Regions from separate parts of the Homo sapiens genome. Here region 1 is linked to region 2. The links are contacts of gene promoters, found by promoter capture Hi-C in human tissues and cell types (Jung and others, 2019). All regions are on one chromosome and are shown on one strand. Each heading gives the region's core, a stretch centred on a gene start or on the middle of the fragment in contact. The rest is flanking DNA. Distances are from core to core; before and after follow the strand shown.

Region 1 (4,762 bases), core at 391-2,890, 220 kb before region 2:
TTGGAAGGCCGAGGCGGGTAAATCACCTGAGGTTGGGAGTTCAAGACCAGCCTGACCAACATGGAGAAACCCCATCTCTACTAAAAATACAAAAAAATTAGCCAGGCGTGGTGGCGCATGCCTGTAATCCCAGCTACTTGGGAGGCTGAGGCATGAGAATTGCTTGAACCTGGGAGGTGGAGGTTGCAGTGAGCCGAGATCGGAGCACTGCACTCCAGCCTAGGCAACAGAGCAAGACTCCATCTCAGAAAACAAACAAACAAAAAAGAGCCTGGAACCTCCTCCCCTCTCTCTTGCTCCCTCTCTCACCATGCGACACACCTGTTTCCCCTTCCCCTTCTGACATAAGTGAAAGCTTCCTAAGGCCTCACCAGAGGCAGATGCTGGCACCATGCTTATTGCACAGTCTGCAGAACAGTGAGCCAAAATAAACCTCTTTTCTTTATAAATTACCCAGTCTCAGATATTCCTTTATAGCAATGCAAAATGGACTAACAATACATAAGTTAGGGAGTGTTAATTAGAATGGAAATTAAATATGCAGAAACTCAAAGGAAGATGAAATTGTTAGGGAAGACATATGTGTTAACCTAGTGAGGCTTGAATCAGATGTTTGGAAGAAATGAGGGAGGTTTCTGAGGCTCCTGGTGACCTTGCCATTGAGGACACATATACTTCTCCCCCTACACACGCCTTTTCTTCTTCCCCAGTACAATGAACATTAGGAATTACCTGCTCATTGTAGGGAAAATGACCACCCTTCAGGCATTGCTTTTCATGAAAAGTGGATTAGACAAGAGGAGAAGTGGTTACACTTTTTAATTGTTACATAATTGTTAGACTGTTTTCCCTATGGCAAAGTTGGGAAATAAGTAACTGTTGGAAACTAGAGGCCTTTGGAAGCAAGTAGACTCTTAGATTGGAAAAATGTGGTTCTAATCTAAAAGCAATGATACAATGAGAGCTGTTATGAATTAATAAAAACAGAACCAAAATTTATCTCATATGGCTGTTTCTTTTTCTAAATGCTCAAAATTATTTATTACTACCAAAGATTACAACTTGTCATTTCAGGCTGCCATAACAAAATACTATAGACTGGGGGGCTTAAACACCCAACATTTATTTTCTCATGGCTCTGAAGGCTGGACATCTGAGATCATGGTGCCAGCATGGCCGGTTTCCAGTGAGGCCCTTCTTCCTGGCTAGTTGGTGGCCACCATCTTGCTGTGTGCTCACATGACCTCTTCTCTGTGCCTGCACTGGGGGAGGGAGAGGCTCTACTGTCTCCTCTTATAAGGACACTAATCCTAATCCTATCAGGGCCCCTCCCTTATGATCGCATTTGACCTTAATTACCTCCTACAGGTTCTATCTCTAAATGCAGTCAGATTGGGGGAGAAGGCTTCAACATACAGATTTTCAGAGGGGGGACACAATTCAGTCCTTAGCACAACTACTGGATATTTAATTATTTATTTTAAAATCAAGGGAAAGACTGCCAGGAGAGGTGGCCACCAGTCAAGGCTCTGTGACATAAAAAGTGGATTATTTTCTAACTCGAAAATGAAGAAGATACTGTCCACTGTCACCATGGAGATGATCTATGCATTAGTCCCTTCCCCCACAAAAAGCGCTATTTCTGAATTGGGGAATGGAGAGGTATGGAATGAACAGAAGGCTGAGACCTGCCTACTGGAGCCACACCATGACCATCCAGTGTCTGGGAAGCCCTGGGTGGAGCTGGAAGCTGCTGATGAATTGGCAGCACTGATAAACCAAGACGAAGAGAAAACATCCCCAGCAGTGAGGGGTGGAGCATATGGTGGATAAGGAGTCTGTGGAGCCAGGCATCTGTCAGAAATGAGAAGTCAAAGCCAGCAGACAAAGTCAAGAGAGCAGAGGAAGTATTATTATACCAGTGGCATTAGAGCAGGAGACAGACAAGTAAAAAGGAATGATGAGTGCTGGCAGAAACAACAGAGTGCTGGACTGCCCTAGGCAGGCAAGGATAGCAAGGGAGGTGACAGAAGAATGGAGCCTCCACATATGGAGGAGTCTGCATGGGGAACTGTAGGGTGAGGAGGATTCCCAATTCAGGTCTTGGAAACACACAGATGTATGTGTAGAAAACACGGAGAGGGTCAAGAGCAAGATAGAAGCAGCCATGTGCTTTATGACCCAGTCATAGAAATCACCTATCAGTCCTTTCGACATATTTGTTAGAAGCATGTCCCTAAATCCAGCCCACATTTAAGGGAAGGAAAATCAGCCTCCTTCTTTTGAAAGAAGGAGTGTCAAAGAATGTATGGACATTTTTACTACCACATTAATTTTTCTTTAAAACTCCTCTTTATCTCACTTTTCTACTCAGAAATCTATTATATTACATTACATAAAATCCACACTCTCTTATTTATTCCGGGCTCTAAGGATCTATGCAATTGGGCTCCTTCCGGTTGTATTTTCCAGTGTTTTCCAGTGTGCTCCACTTTGGTTGACTCCTTACTGGCCTCTGAATGCCTCGTGACCATCTCAGCATTTCTGGGCTTTGGTTCCCACTTTAAGAGAGTTCTCTGATTGTGTCTTTATTAAGCTTGTGATTGAAACACAATTGAGCTGTTGCAGTTAAGACCATGGGCGTTGGCTTAGACAAGAGTGGGTACCAGTCTCTACCTATCTTACTCCCTTGGGCAAGTTCTCCGACCTACCTAAACTTTAGTTTCCTTATTTGTAAAACAGGGACAATAATAGATTGCGTGAACACTGCCACAGAGTTTATACTCCAGTTGTGGGAGGGATGAGAGGAAAAAAGAGAAAAACAAATGAAGTAAACTAGATAAACATAGAGTACAGCAGGTGTGAGAAGTCCTGAAGAGAAAGATAAAGAATAAGCTGGCAGGACTGCAGTGGGAGTGAGAGGATGAGGTGCATTTATGAAAGGAAATGAGTGATCCCCAAGGGGAGAATGTTCCAGGCAGTGGTCTTAAGGCAGGAATGTGCTTGCGACATTAAGCAACAGCCAGGGGGCAAGGGCAGTGGAGAGTGAACAACAAGGAAAAGGAAAAAAATAAAATCAGAAGGGAGGAGGGGAATTGTACCCAGCCTAGTGGGCCCTTTGACTTTTAATCCGAATGAGATGAGCGTCATTGGAGGGTTCAAGCCCAGGACTGATATAATCAGATTTAAGGCTGACGGCTGCTGTGCTGAGTAGACTTTGGAAGGAGTGAGGGCAGAAGCACAGAGACCAGGTAGAGGCCAACAGCAAAAATCCAGGTGGGAGTTATTGGGGAATGGGACTGGCGGGTAGTGGAAGGGGTGGAAAGAGTGTGGGAAATCTGGGTATTTGGAAGGTAGAGACGAACAGGTATATTTCTCGATTGAACAAGAATTATGAAAGCAGGAAGGTTGCCTCCATGGTTTTTGACTTGAGTCAAAAATGGGTAACTCCACTTTCCCCAATAGAGTTTCAGAGAAGGAAAAGATGGCAGAAAGGGCAGGTTTGAAGGTAGAAATTGAATGGACATGCAAAGTTGAGATGCCTGCTGAATATCCAAGTGGACATGGATGTATGGATACAGGGATCTGGTGGTTGGGGAGAGGTGGAGAGTGGACAGGGATTCCTTGATCTTTTATCTAGAATGTCCCTTTCCCACCTCTGCCCTCTTTCCTCTCAGCTGGTTCTACTTTCCTTCAGAGCACTCATCACCTCCCGGCATTTTCCAATCAGCTGACTATCTTGATCATTAGAAGGAAAGCTCCCTGAGATCAAGACTTTGTCTGCTGTATTCATTGCTTATTCCCCAATGCAATATTTGGAGCTTGATAAACATATATTGAAAAACTGCCATGGGCATAACAACAAATGCTCAAGACAGGGTCCTGCCTCTGGTAACCATCATTCTACTCACTATCTCTATCAGATCAATTGTTTTAGCTCCCACATATGAGTGAAAACATGTACTAGTTGTCTTTCTGTGCCTGGCTTTCTTCACTAACATAATGTCCTCCAGTTCCATCCATGTTGTTGCAAACTGCAAAATTTCATTCTTTTTTATGGCTGAATAATATTCCATTGTGTATATGCAGCATGCTTTCTTTATCCATTTATCCATTGATGGATACTTAGGTTAATTCCGTATCTTAGCTGTTGTGAATAGTGCTGCAGTAAAAATAGGAGTTCAGATATCTCTTTGATATACTGCTTTCCTTTCTTTTGGATATATACCCAGCAGTGGCATTTCTGGATCATAGGGTAGTTCTATTTTTAGTTTTTTGAGAAACTTCATATTGTTTTCCATAACAGCTGTACAAATTTACATTCTCACTAACAGTATACAAGCATTCCCTTTTCTCTGCATTCTTGCCAGCATCTGTTTTGTCTTTTTGATGAAAGCCATTTTAACTGGAGTAAGATATCTCATTGTGGTTTAATTTGCATATCCCTCATGATTAGTGAATTTGAGCATTTTTGCGTATACCTGTTGGCCATTTGTATGTCTTCTTTTGAGAAATGTCTATCAATGTTTTTTGCCTATTTTTAATGAGATTATTTATGTTTTATCTGTTGAGATATTTGAGTTCCTAGTATATTCTGGATATCAGTCCCCTTTCAGAGGAGTAATTTGCAAATATTTTTTCACATCTACTGAACTGATCATGTCCTTTTTCCTTCATTCTGTTGATATGATGTATTACTTTATTGATTTTATATATTGAACTATCCTTGCATCCCTGAGATGAATCCCACTTGATCATGAAG
Region 2 (4,827 bases), core at 1,472-3,971:
GGGGAGCAATGGGTCTTACACGGTGGCAGCAGGGAGCAAGAGAGAGGGAGGAGGTGCTACACACTTCTTTTTTTTTTTTTTTTGAGACAGAGTCTCACTCTGTCACCAGGCTGGAGTGCAGTGGTGAGATCTCAGCTCACTGCAACCTCCGCCTCCCAGGTTCAAGCGATTCTTCTGCCTCAGCCTCCCGAAGAGCTGGGACTACAGGTGCGTGCCACCACGCCCAGCTAATTTTTGTATTTTTAGTATAGATGGGGTTTCACCATGTTGGCCAGGATGGTCTCGATCCGTGATTCCCAACACACCCCCCACACCAGCCTCCCAAACTGCTGTGATTACAGGTGTGAGCCACGGCGCCCTGCCAGTGCTACACAGTTTAAAACAACCAGATCTCACTTACTATCATGAGAATAGCAACAAGGGGATGGTGCTAGACTATTCTTGAGAAACCCACACCCATGATAAAATCACCTCCCACCAGGCCCCACCTCCAACGTTGGGGATTACAATTTCACATTAGATTTGGTGGGACGAGCCATGCCAGGGATGCCCCAAAATTACTAAACTAAAGGGAAAAGTCAGGCTGGGAACTGCTCAGGGCAAACTTGCCTCCCATTCTATTCAAAGTCATTCAGCTGCTCACTGAGATATATGCATATTCTGATGGCCTTCTTTGGAAAGGCTTATCAGAAACTCAAAAGAAGGCAACCATTTGTCTCTCACCTACCTGAGACCTGGAAGCCCCCTCCGTGCTTCGAGTTGTCCCCGCCTCTCTGGACAGAACCAATGTACTTCTTACATATATTGATTGATATCTCATGTCTCCCTAAAATGTATAAAACCAAGCTGTGCCCTGACCACCTTGGGTACATGTCGTCAGGACTTCCTGAGGTTGTGTCATGGACACGTGTCCTCAACCTTGCTAAAATAAACTTTCTAAATTAATTGAGACCTGTCTCAAAATTTGCGGGTTCACACATGTTATTTAGAAATATGGAAGTAAACACAGGAACAAAACTTGAAAGAATTAAAAATGCTTTCCTCTGGAAAGTGGATTTAACTTAAGGAGGAACTGAACAGGAGAATGCGGGTTTTGGTTACAGAAAAAAAGAGATTCAAATAAAACAGTAGAGAACACCTGTTCTGTCCTCCCTTGTGTTTATCAAGTGCTTGCCAGGCACTCAAAGTTCATTGCTGTCATTATTGTAAGAATTGAGGACTTGGGCCTCCACGTGGTATTCTATTAATACTGGCTCTTTTTTTTTTTTTTTTTGAGACGGAGTCTCACTCTGTTGCCCAGACTGGAGTGCAGTGGCCCGATCTCGGCTCACTGCGAGCTCTGCCTCCTGGGTTCACGCCGTTTTCCCGCCTCAGCCTCCCGAGTAGCTGGGACAACAGGCGCCCGCCACCGCGCCTGGCTAATCTTTTGTATTTTTAGTAGAGACGGGGTTTCACCGTGTTAGCAAGGATGGTCTCGATCTCTTGACCTCGTGATCCACCCGCCTCGGCCTCCCAAAGTGCTGGGATTACAGGTGTGAGCCACCGCGCCCGGCCAATCCTGGCTCTCTTAAACTGAACATCTCCAGGATTTTGCATCTATCAGGAAGGGATATTGTGACCTCTGACAAGTTACAGTCGGCGGTAGGTATCCATGGAGAATTGGTTCCAGGAACCTCCTGGATACCAAAATCCACAGATGCTCAAGGCCCTTATATTAAATGGTGTAGTATACAGTATTTGCACATCCTCTTCTATAATTCACGTCATCTCCAGATTCCTTGTAATATCAAGTACTATGTAATTGTTACATAAGTAGTTGTTACATTGGATTATTTAGGGAATGATGACAAGGAAAAAAAAGTCCGTACATGTTCCGTACAGATGCAAGCATTCTTTTTTTCCTCAAATGTTTCTCATCCGTGGTTAGCTGAATTTGGATGATGAATCCGCAAATCTGGAGGGCCGAACATGCTTAACTTCCCTGAGTTTATCCATTGCTAAAGCGAGAGAAATTACAAACTTAGCTAGGAAGGGTGTTGCGGAAAGTAATTAATATTATACTTGCAAAGTGCTTGGCACGTTGTTGTGGTTATTATTTCCTGAAAACAAACAAACACCACTTATTGGTTGGTGTGAAAGAGGGCATCTGTCAAAGTTGTCGTCCTTTGGAGCCAGAAAAGTATTTCTTCTGATGATGACTGACCTCTCCTCACCTCTCCTTCAACCTTGCGGCTTCTTTGGGGCTCCCTCCCCGTGGACAGCGGTCAAGATTAGCCTGGGCCACAGTGCACTGGTCCTGTCCTGGGTGATGTTCCAAGCTCACTCTTTTTTAATTTTATTTATTTATTAATTTTTTTTTTAGACAGAGTCTCACTCTGTCGCCCAGGGCTGGAGTGCAGTGGTGCAATCACTGCTCGCTGCAGCCTCGATCCCCTGGGGTCAAGCCTCCTCACATCTCACCTCGCAGGTAGCTGAGACTACAGATGCGCACCACCAGGACCAGCTAAGTTTTGTATTTTTTTGTAGAGAGGAGGTTTCTCACCTGTATGTTACTCAGGTTTGTCTCGAACTCCTATACTCAAGCGATCCGCCCGTCTAGGCCTCTCAAAGTGCTGGGATTACAGGCATGAGCCGCCGCGCCCCGCCCCACGCTCAGTCTTGAAATTGTCTGGAACGGGAAACGGCAAACAGCGAGATATCCGAGCGAGAGTCCCGCCCTGCATCAGTTTGCGGAACCGCCTTGGTAGAAGGAGAGAAGGGGAGTGGAGGAAGCACGGGACTGGAGGGACCAAAGTTCCCCGATGGCGGCCCAGGGGTGCGCGGCATCGCGGCTGCTCCAGCTGCTGCTGCAGCTTCTGCTTCTACTGTTGCTGCTGGCGGCGGGCGGGGCGCGCGCGCGGTGGCGCGGGGAGGGCACCAGCGCACACTTGCGGGACATCTTCCTGGGCCGCTGCGCCGAGTACCGCGCACTGCTGAGTCCCGAGCAGCGGTGAGGCAGTCGGCCGGGTGGAAGGGGAGCCGGAAAGAGGCAACGGTGGGGAGGGCCTGGGGAGGGGAAAACTGGCGCTAAAGTTCGGGGTGAGGGGGCAATGAGAGAGGCCTTGAGGGGAGAGGTGAGTGTGGAGACAGCGATGGTCCTGAACGATGGGGGCGAGTGAGGAGGGGGCTGTGAAGTGTGTCTGCAGGTGAGGGGTGCGCTGTGCGGGGTCTAGAGATGAGTGTGTGTGTGTGCGCGCACACACACACTGTAGAGGTGAGGGGTGTGTGCGTGTGTTCTAGAGGTGAGGGGGGTGTGTGTGTGCGCGCGCTCTAGAGGTGGGAGGTGTGTGTGTGCTCTAGAGGTGGATGTGTGTGTGTGTGCTCTAGAGGTGGGGGTGTGTGTGTGTGTGTGTGCTCTAGAGGTGAGGGGTGTGTGTGTGTGTTCTAAAGGTGAGATGTGTGTGTGTGTTCTAGAGGTAAGGGGTGTGTGTGTTCCAGAGGTGAGGTGTCTGTATGTGTGTTCTAGAGGTGAGGGGTGTGTGCATGTGTGTTCTAGAGGTGAAGGGGGTGTGTGTGCGTGCGCTCTAGAGGTGAGGGGTGTGTGTATTCTAGAGGTGAGGGGTGTGTGTGTTCTAGAAGTGAGGGGTGTGTGTGTTCTGGAGGTGAGATGTGTGTGTGTGTGTTCTAGAGGTGAGGGGTGCGTGCATGTGTTCTAGAGGTGTGTGTGTATCTGTGTTCTAGAGGTGAGGGGTGTGTGTGTGTAGTCTAGAGGTGACAGGTGTGTGTGTGTGGTCTATAGGTGAGGGATGTGTGTGTGGTCTAGAGGTGAGGGATGTGTGTGTGGTCTAGAGGTGAGGGGTGTGTGTGTTCTAGAGGTGAGGGGGTGTATGTGTATTCTAGAGCTGAGGAGAGTGTGTGTTCTAGAGATGAGGTGTGTATGTGTGTTCTAGAGGTGAGGGGTGTGTGTGTGTTCTGGAGTTGAGGGGTGTGTGTTCTAGAGGTGAGATGTGTGTGTTCTAGAGATGATGGGTGTGTGTGTTCTAGAAGTGAGAGGTGTGTGTGTTCTAGAGGTAAGGGATGTGTGTGTGTGTGTGTTCTAGAGGTGAGTTGTGTGTGTGTTCTAGAGGTGAGATGTGTGTGTGTTTGTTCTAGAGGTGAGGGGTGTGTGTGTGTAGTCTAGAGGTGACAGGTGTGTGTGTGTGGTCTATAGGTGAGGGATGTGTGTGTGGTCTAGAGGTGAGGGATGTGTGTGTGGTCTAGAGGTGAGAGGTGTGTGTGAGTGTGAAGGAGGGTGGAGAGGTATCCCTCTAGAAGTGAGGGTGGGGTAGAGGTGAACTGGGTAACAGCCCATTGCCACCCAGCAGATGTTTAGTCTGAATACTCAGAACCCAGAATGTGATCTCAGGTTGGAATTCCTTGAGTCCAGTCCTTCCAGAATTCAAATTTCAGATCCCCTAAATCTGGAGGATTTCTGAAGTTTGGGTCTTTCTTGCCAGTGCTGCATTTCTTACTGATTTTTGTTCCTTCTGTGGCCCCCCTTTTCTTATGTTTGTGATGTCTTTCTTGTGCTGATCATTTTTATTGTCGCACATTTCAGGCAAATAAGAAACAGCAGAGAACCACCTGTGTTACACACCACCCAGTATGAGAAACAAAGTTACAAATGCTATGGGAAATATTTTTTGAAAACTAGCATGGACCTCAAGAGGGGCTTGCACTGGAGGGTGCACCTGCTTTGCCAGAGGTGGAAGCCTTTTGCAGCATTGGGCCTCCCTCCTAACACTACACATCCTGCTGGCTGGCCTGGCCTCACCTGGTCCCCGAGCTCCACACTGGAACTGGACTATG

What was found. Contacts are between HindIII fragments. The study calls those that stand out against the background at their distance.
Region 1: a fragment that was not itself captured here is called in contact with the fragment with the promoter of BST1 in region 2 in 1 of the 25 tissues and cell types used here (dorsolateral prefrontal cortex).

What each region holds. Positions count from the first base shown.
Region 1 is chr4:15,481,265-15,486,026 of GRCh38, forward strand. The region is part of intron 4 of CC2D2A (coiled-coil and C2 domain containing 2A); the gene reads left to right. Among named protein-coding and RNA genes, the nearest start is that of CC2D2A, 14 kb to the left of the region's middle. The HindIII fragment of the contact is 5,893 bases long and covers 1-4,587 here.
Region 2 is chr4:15,700,344-15,705,170 of GRCh38, forward strand. BST1 (bone marrow stromal cell antigen 1) reads left to right here and starts at 2,722. Exons shown (of 9, transcript NM_004334.3): 1 at 2,722-2,989. The coding sequence starts at 2,802. RefSeq lists a silencer at 2,661-2,740. The HindIII fragment of the contact is 14,003 bases long and covers 1-4,827 here.